Linked DNA regions of Homo sapiens: region 1 is linked to region 2. The links are contacts of gene promoters, found by promoter capture Hi-C in blood cells and fetal thymus (Javierre and others, 2016). All regions are on one chromosome and are shown on one strand. Each heading gives the region's core, a stretch centred on a gene start or on the middle of the fragment in contact. The rest is flanking DNA. Distances are from core to core; before and after follow the strand shown.

Region 1 (4,197 bases), core at 1,548-4,047, 1.6 Mb before region 2:
TCCATACATGTGACTACTTTCTTATATCTCCCTTGGCAAATGATAGATCTCATTTCTTTTCCAGTTTCAGTGAGGTCTAGATTTGGGCTTGGGGAAGTTCTACTTTTTCATGTGGCCTTCAACAAAAAATATTCCAGCACCTAAAATGCGTAATTCTTTGGGGTCGGGCAACTTATTACAGACAAGTTTTAATACTGAGAAGCAACAACAATTTGCTACGTGAAGGATACCTGAAAACCAGATTACTACCTAAGCCAAAGTTAAAACAATGTTCCGCACAGCCATTTCCGAATGTTTTGGATTATTAATACAGCAATGGCGCTCTCTGATGACTGCTGGTGTGTATTACATGTCTCTTGAAGGGAAGAATACATTTTGGATGTTGTGGAGGCCTCCTATTCCACGGTTTGGATAAATAATAAGCCTCCCTTCAGCTTGATCATCTTCACTCCTCATCCCCTTCCCCTTTTATCCCTCATCATTTACTTTGATTGCAGAGGGAAGGTCATGGATACAGAATGCAGCCTTTTGTCAATGTTCAGAGACCCAGCAACCAAGACACAGGTCCCCATGACAGATAGTGAAATTGTCACAGTGTGAACCAAGTGCAGACAATCTCCAGGATCACTTACCTATTTAAGTCATGACAGATTCATCCATCATCTCCTGCTAGAATGCTCCTTCTTTTCTGAAGATTATGGCTACACATAATCCTACCCACGCACTCTGTGATGCTATCCCACAGCTTTAGGAAACAGACAGGAATTTATACATTCTCTTTGAGCTAAGAACTATCGTGCTAAGAGCTGGAGACACAGTGATGAACAAGTCGTGGTCCCCATTCTAAATATTACACCCTATCAGGGGACTCAGGTGGCCAATTTGTCTGTAAATCATTCACTTCCAATTATAATAATTGCTACAAAAAATGAGGCTTTGAGTTTCTGTAGCATGGAGGAAATATCTCATTGGATCTAGGGGTCAGAAGAATTTTCCCTGAGGAAGGAGAGTAAGATGTGGGGTGCCAAAAATGGAGAAGGGACTAGTCAGAGTGATCAAGGGCTTGCAGAAGAAAGAACCTGGGGCTGAGGCAGCCTGAACTGGGCTTCTCCTGGGGTTAAAGGTGAGTGATCAGTGTAGAGTCAACCAGTAGGAACAGACATTAGGTAATCTCAAGGATGGTGAGCTATTAAGAGAGAATGTTTGTCATTAACTGACCCATTGTGAATGATTGAGCTGGTGTTAGAGGATGAGTATAATCCAACACCTGAATGTTTCTTTTGAGGGTTAATTTAAACTCTCTTGGACAGGTGTGGTGGCTCACACCTGTAATCCCAGCACTTTGGGAGGCTGAGGCGGGTAGATCACTTGAGGTCAGGAATTCAAGACCAGCCTGGCCAACATGGTGAAACCCCCATCTCTACTAAAAATACTAAAATTAGCCAGGTATGGTGGCATGCGCCTGTAATCCCAGCTACTCGGGAGGCTGAGGCAGGAGAATTGCTTGAACCCAGGAGGTGGAGGCTGCAGTGAGCCAAGATTGCACCACTGCACTCCAGCCTGGGCGATAGAGTGAGACTCTGTCTCAAAAAAAAAAAAGAAAAAAAAATTAAACTGTCTTGAGTACTAAATATTGGTGTGGAGAACATCCTGGATCTTTGCCAATTCTGCATCTTCGCAGGAGCCAAGGATATTGCAGAATTTGCTATTTACATCCCCTCTGCTGCTTGTGTAAGATGAGGAAACAACAATAGCAGACATAATTGCTGAGGTTGGGAGGGGGAGCTGAGCTAACAATAGGCAAAAGATGAAGGGAAGAGAGGATAATGGTGGCAGCTATAGGATTCCAATGGTGAATTGTGGCTACTTAAAAAAATCAGGATATAAAGCCTTACCTATTGTGGGATACCAACTAGCTCTCAGGATACCTCAGGCTAAAATGCAAGATTTAGATCCTCAAAACCTGGGTTCAAATCCTACTTTTCTACCTCTAGGTATGTGATTAGGTTAACAAACTTTCTTCTGCCTCCATTTCTACGTCTGTAAATAGCAATAATAGTAGTATGTATCTGCTTTTTTAAATTATCGTGAAGAAGTGCGTGGAAAGTGCATAGCATCACGCCTGACACTTTTCAATTATTCAATATTGGCTTATGATTGACAATATTTAATATTTGGGAGGAAATCCACACACATATAAGACAGACTTAAGGAAAACTTTTATTTTCTTCTTCACACTTTTCCGTTATTTTCCAATTTTCTAAAATGAGTATGCATTGCTATTAAAACCAAAAGGAGGGAAACTCACAAATTTCTGAACAATAGAAGTTTGACTGTTCCACTGTTTCCGGAATTTCCCGGAACATGTTGTTCAAGAAGGACGTGGGAGTGCATGCTGAAGCACAGATTGCTAGGTCTCGACCCGTAAATACTGGATAAAAATCTTTAAGAAATAATTCTGGTAATCTATACTTTTAATCAGCTCCACAGATGACTGTTATAATCGGGCACTGCTGGGACGTGTTGATTGAATGGGAAGTGAGCAGAGAGTGGGCGGGGAAGGCCTGGCGGGGAAGGCCTGGCGGGTTGCAGCGATCACGAGGCCTGCGCCTACAGTTCCCATATTACCCCGCGAAATCGCGACGAGCAAGCACGAACCCTGCCGGGAGTTGTAGTTTCTCTCGGCTAGGCCGCTGCCTATAAAGAACGCCGGAGATGGCCACAGAAAACTTCCCGCCCCACAATGCAAAGGTCAACGTTGACGCCATCTGGGGTGCGCCTGGAATCGAGCAGGCCGTTTCTGCCGCGTCCACCACAACCTCTGCTGTATCAGAGGGGGCCTTCGCCGCCGCCGCCCCCACCACCGCCCCTGCCGCCATCGCCACCTCCGCCGCTGCCGCCTTGGGGCCCTCCTCCTTCACCGCCCCCTTCACCACCTCTACACGTTCTAGGCCTTCTGTCCTGGAGAAGAAGCTATAGTCGTTCTCCCTTGTGGGCCCGGGGCGCAGCCATGGCGGACGGCGGCGGCGGCGGGGGAACTGGCGCGGTGGGCGGCGGCGGAACTAGCCAGGCCTCTGCCGGGGCAGCGACTGGCGCTACTGGGGCCAGCGGGGGCGGTGGCCCCATCAACCCGGCCTCGCTGCCTCCCGGCGACCCGCAGCTCATCGCTCTCATCGTGGAGCAGCTCAAGAGCCGGGGCCTTTTTGACAGCTTCCGCCGGGACTGCCTGGCCGACGTGGACACCAAGGTAGCTGCGGCCGCCTGGGCGTTGGGGAGCGGGGCTGCACGTGAGGCCGCCGGGTGGCAGCTTTGATTTTCGAAAGCCGAGAGCAAAACAAAAGATAGCTTAGAAATCTCAGCGGTGAGGTCTTACACCGCTTGGGGCAGTACGGAGAGCTTTCTGAGCGATGCACACGTGGGTTCCTGCCTGATACATTTACTACTAGTTGTGATTTTACCCAGTCCCTTCTCCGAACTTGGGGTTTCAATGTGGGTTTTAGAGCCTAGACCGTATCATTCCCAAGATGGAACTCCTCTGAGGCCCTTAATAACAAACTTCGAAACCAAGTAGATAAGCAAGCGTGCTTTAGAATTTCCACCTGTTCCGTACTCACCACTGAGAAGCTGGCATTAAACACAATGATTTGAACACACAGTCATCACCATTTTATAGCTGTTTATTCCTTTTCTCTAGCTCATTGTTTTGCAGACTAGTACGGCGTTGAATTAAGATAAATTGTAGAAACAGCACCCTTATTTTGCACTTCATCATTGATAAAAGGAGATTTGGTGCCTAGTTGAGATCCTAATGCCATTGGTCAGTCCCACCAGTAAAACGCTATTTCACTTTACCTACTCGTCAGGGTGGTTTGGATTCAATGAAATAATGGGTGTTAAGTATCAGACATACAGTAGTTGCTGGAATGTTCATTTTCTTCCTTTTCAAAACTTGTCTAGCCACGACTGTGGTTGTAGGTTAGGAGACCCTGTCACTGGACTCCTGCAGGGTAGTGATTTCTCCTACCAGAGCCTGTCATGGAAACATTTTGCTTACCTCACAGCAAGATTGTGAGCTTAGAATTAGACCTTAAGATAGGGAAAAACGTAGTCTGTTTATTCGTTGAACGTTTATTGGCCTCTAGTTGCCAAGCTGTGCGATTACAGGAATAAGTCACTACCCCATCCTCAAAACTTATA
Region 2 (4,123 bases), core at 1,196-3,695:
AACGGGACATTACCAAGTGTGGTGCATACCAGAGGTTTGATAAGCATTTGTTCACTGGGGCTTGTCCTTTCTCAAGTCACTATGCAGACGTTTGAATGATAAAAAGCCACAGGGAGGAGAGGCCCTAGAAGATGAAAAGTCATTTTGAATGAGTTCCCAGCTGATTGCATGTGGGCCCCGGCTGAGCCCGGGTCAGCCCACACAATTGTAAAATCATAATAAACCATTGTTATTCTAAGCTACTAAGTCTTCGGAGGTTTGTTGTGTTGCAACAGGTAACTGAAATAGAGGTCATATCTAATCCCTTTGTTTTACTAATGAATGTCCTAAGGGCCATAGTGGAACGGACCTGGTGAAATTCAGATAGCATGACAGTGGTAAGAACTTTCCAATTCTGTGCTCTTCCTATTGCTTTTCTTTCAATTCCCTTGGTGAAAAGCACCAGGTAAGGACTATGAAACTTCAAAGTCTACCTGCAGGGAACTTATACTGTGTCCTGAATGCATGCAAATTACTGTAACTTGGTCCTTGGTAATGGAAAGATTTCTAGGTCATCCAGCCTCTTTGACTTTATAGGTGCAGAGAATGCAAAAACACTTTGAGAAAGTGAAAAGCAGCCTCTGATATCTGGAAGCTGGCCTGGTACAATCAGCCATGCCATGATGTTACTAGACCACAGCCTGGCCCTTATAGCTAGGCTTTGTGTTTTCCTGTAGAACAAAAACAATTCCAAAGAACATCAACATCAGACGAGGTCATTCTGTGACCATGATAGATCCAGACAAATACAAGACCACTCTATAATCAGGTCTAAACACGATAAAAAGATAAAACCTGATGATTGTCCAAACCACAAAAAATGACTCAACATCCCCACTTGGCTAATATGAGGGAGCTGCTGCTGCACTTTTTTTTTTTTTTTTCGTTTTTGAGACAAGGTCTGGCTCTATCACTCAGGGTACAGTGGAGTGGTGCGATCTCCATTCACTGAAACCTCCACTTCCTGGGCTCAAGCGATCGTCCCACCTCTGCCTCCCAAGTAACTGAGATGACAGGCGCGCACCACCAGGCCCGGTTCATTTTTGTATTTTTTGTAGAGAAGAGTTTCGCCATGTTGCCCAGGCTGGTCTGGAACTCCTGCGCTCAAGCAATTCGCCTGCCTCGGTTTACCAAAGTGCTGGGATTACAGGCGTGAGCCACTGCGCCCGGCCAGGCTGCTGTTTCTTTATCTGCACAGCTTTAGCCTCAATCTAGAATTCCCTTCCTCTAGATAAGATGAACTGAGATGCTCAATCATGGAACGACCCTCTCTTCCTGACAGTATCTAATCCAGTGAAGCTCTCACTTCCTTAAACCCTCTCCCAAATCACTAACAACTCTTACCGAGAGGCCCTATCGTTCCTCAATGTGTGTTCTCAGTCACTGCAACTAGTAATAAACCCAGCTTGTTCAACGATCCGTGTCTTCCTGGTGGGATTTGGTTAGAGGGCACGGACAGACCTAAGTTACACAGAGTTGGAGGCTGAGTTCACTAGAAGGAGTCTCCGCTTGTGTGTTCCTTCTTAGCCACTCTTTTGGTTAGTGTCTGTCGTCCCTCCACCAGAATTAAGCTCCATGAGAACAGGAGCCTTGTCTGTCATGTTCAGAGCTGATTCTCAGCGCCTAGAACGGTACGCAGCGGAAGCTGGATGCTTAAAAAATAACCATTTTCTGAACGAATGAATGAGGGGCTCGATATACGCACGTCCCCTTTAATCTCGCAGCTCCTCGCAGATCGTGTGACATACAGACAGCACCACAGCACATTTCCCAAAACCCCGTCTTTCCCGAAGAAATCTCGAAACTCTCACTCCTGGGATGCCCATCCTCTCAGAGCCTCTTCCCCAGGCCGAGCTTCTCTCACTCGCTGGCCCCTTCCCACACCTGAGCCCCAGGTCTATACACCTTCCTAACGCACCTAGAACCCACCTGTCTCCACCATCTGCCCCTACCATCAGACACTGCCGGACGGGCCGCGCAGCTACCTAGGCGTCTAGGGAGCACTGCGGCATGGACCGCGCATGTGCGGAAATGGGTCGCATACGCAGGACCTCCGACAAGTGAGGAGTTGCCTCGGAGTTTCCGTCCCGGTCTGGGCAGCCTTGGGCTGCCAGGAAGTCAAGAGAAGCTAGCCGGAAGGACAACCCGGGCGCACGGCTTTCTGGGACACGTAGTCGTGGCGCTCTCGAGGCCCTGCCATGAGCAAGCTCTTAACTCTTCAGGTCTGCACGTCCTACGCCCACCGTCCAGTGCTACTCTCAGCTCGGAGTTCAGCTTCGGGCTGCCAAGAGCCAGCAACCTGGTGTCAGAGGCTCGGTCCCACAACGCTCTGCGGGCCGCGGCGCCTGCTGGGAGGTGTAGTCCCCGATCTGCGTACTGCGTTCGCCGAGGGGGAGGGCGGAGCTGCCGGCGGCCCGGGCGGGCTGGCAGCTAGAGTGGGTGCGATAGCCGCCTCCGCCTCTGCCGCCTCCGCCGTCGCCTCCTCCGCCCGGGCCGTTCGCTGCTGCGCGGGGAGAGCGAGGCGGGGCCGCCGGGGCCGCCATGGAGCCCGACTCGGTGATTGAGGACAAGACCATCGAGCTCATGGTGAGTGCGGCCCGCTGGACCGTCTGTGCTTCCGTCCGTCCGGCCCCGGGCGGGCCTGCCCACCTCAACGTCCGGTGCGAGGCCGGCTCTGGCCCTTCCCAGACGCCTCGACCCAGACCCGGGCCCCCAGCCTTCCCTGGCCTCGGACCTGGCGCGGGCTCCTCTGATCCCTCGACATCTCCGGCCGGTCCTGGCCCGGCCCCCTCCATGCCCCTCGCTTCTCCCCCTCCCCCTGGTCCCGTCTCCGGTCCCAGCTCTCGGACGACCCTCGCTCGTTTATGCTGTAGACTTAGGTCGCACTCGCTCTAGCACCCCATTCTCCTTCTTTTAGAAAGGGATTTTTTTTTCTTTCCTCTGTTTCGGCCCAGGCCCGCACCGCGCTTGCAAGCCCCACTCAGGCCGAGTGAGATGGTGGGAAGGAGTACGGAGATGGGTTGGGGCCGCCTGGGCCTCCGCGTCCTAGGAGAGGTCTCAGCACCCACTCCCCAGCCTAGGTCTGTGTGGATGCCAGGATAGGCCCTACAGAGCTGGGGGGGCAGGGAGCTTTCGGGTTTGAGGCTGTGGCGGATAAGGAGGCCTCTTTCCCGGGCCCTTGTGGTGTCCGGCTTCTCGGACAAAGGGTTTCCTACCCGGCGGAGAGGGATGTTTGCATAGCAAGGGCCCAGGTACTCTGGATTCCATCCTCCAGGAAAGAGAAGGCGCAACTTCACGTTTTCCAGAGCTGCTTTGGGAAATTGGAGATGACTGGGGAGGGAGCCATCCTCATCACTGCCGCGAGGTCTTTCTTCTCAGAAAGAAAAAAAAAAGAGGGGAATCCTTGGCCCCCGGGGGAAGCGACCACTCTTCTGTTAGAAACCACTGGCAGCCAGGCCAGACTCCCGGTCCGTGGACACCCTCCACCCTCCTCCGAAGCTTTAGGATTTGAAACCAGAAGGGGTTTTTAGGAACAGGACAGTGAGAGAGTGGCTAGAAGTGAAGAATTTGCTAATTGATGGATGATTTGGTGGAAGAAATAAAATATGGCAGATATTACCTGCCAACGTGAACATGAGGGAAATCAAATTGGGCTCTGGAGAGCTGGGAAGAGGAAGTCTGCATCAGCAAATGGACATGTCCAGGATTTCTTCCTATGGAAGCCTTGACAGTTTCTTTGTATCTTTCCTAACACGGTAACAACTTCTTCCCCAGGGTTGAGAGGAGAGGTGGAAGAATCTACTTAACCCAGCAAAATGTTTTCCTAGCCAGATTTTCTTCAGTGTGAAAATGTTTATTGAGTCAGTGATTCCACTGGGTAGGGTTGGTGACATCAGAGCCACTTCCCCCATTTAACGCTATAAATAATAAATGGTGACACTGAAAGTCTGTTGGATAGCTGCATGGTTTCTGTGGATGATGGTGTCTGGGGAGTTGAGATGCTTGTTTTAAAAATGGAAGTACAGTAGCATAAATATGGAGGCAGCTTAATGTTTGCTGTCCTTTGCATAATTCACAGAACTGG

What was found. Contacts are between HindIII fragments. The CHiCAGO score rates a contact against its expected background, and 5 or more counts as called.
Region 1: a contact is called between the fragment with the promoter of BOD1 here and the fragment with the promoter of FBXW11 in region 2, in 1 of 17 cell types (neutrophils). The highest score is 6.5, in neutrophils.

What each region holds. Positions count from the first base shown.
Region 1 is chr5:173,615,250-173,619,446 of GRCh38, reverse strand. It overlaps BOD1 (biorientation of chromosomes in cell division 1), which reads left to right and starts at 2,797. Exons shown (of 4, transcript NM_138369.3): 1 at 2,797-3,247. The coding sequence starts at 3,011. RefSeq lists enhancers at 2,521-2,600, 2,621-2,880 and silencers at 2,861-2,930, 2,941-2,990. The HindIII fragment of the contact is 8,451 bases long and covers 1-4,197 here.
Region 2 is chr5:172,004,960-172,009,082 of GRCh38, reverse strand. FBXW11 (F-box and WD repeat domain containing 11) reads left to right here and starts at 2,445. Exons shown (of 14, transcript NM_001378974.1): 1 at 2,445-2,625. The coding sequence starts at 2,581. RefSeq lists enhancers at 51-678, 2,121-2,390, 1,934-2,561, 3,161-3,280 and silencers at 2,421-2,700, 2,711-2,820. The HindIII fragment of the contact is 14,963 bases long and covers 1-3,539 here.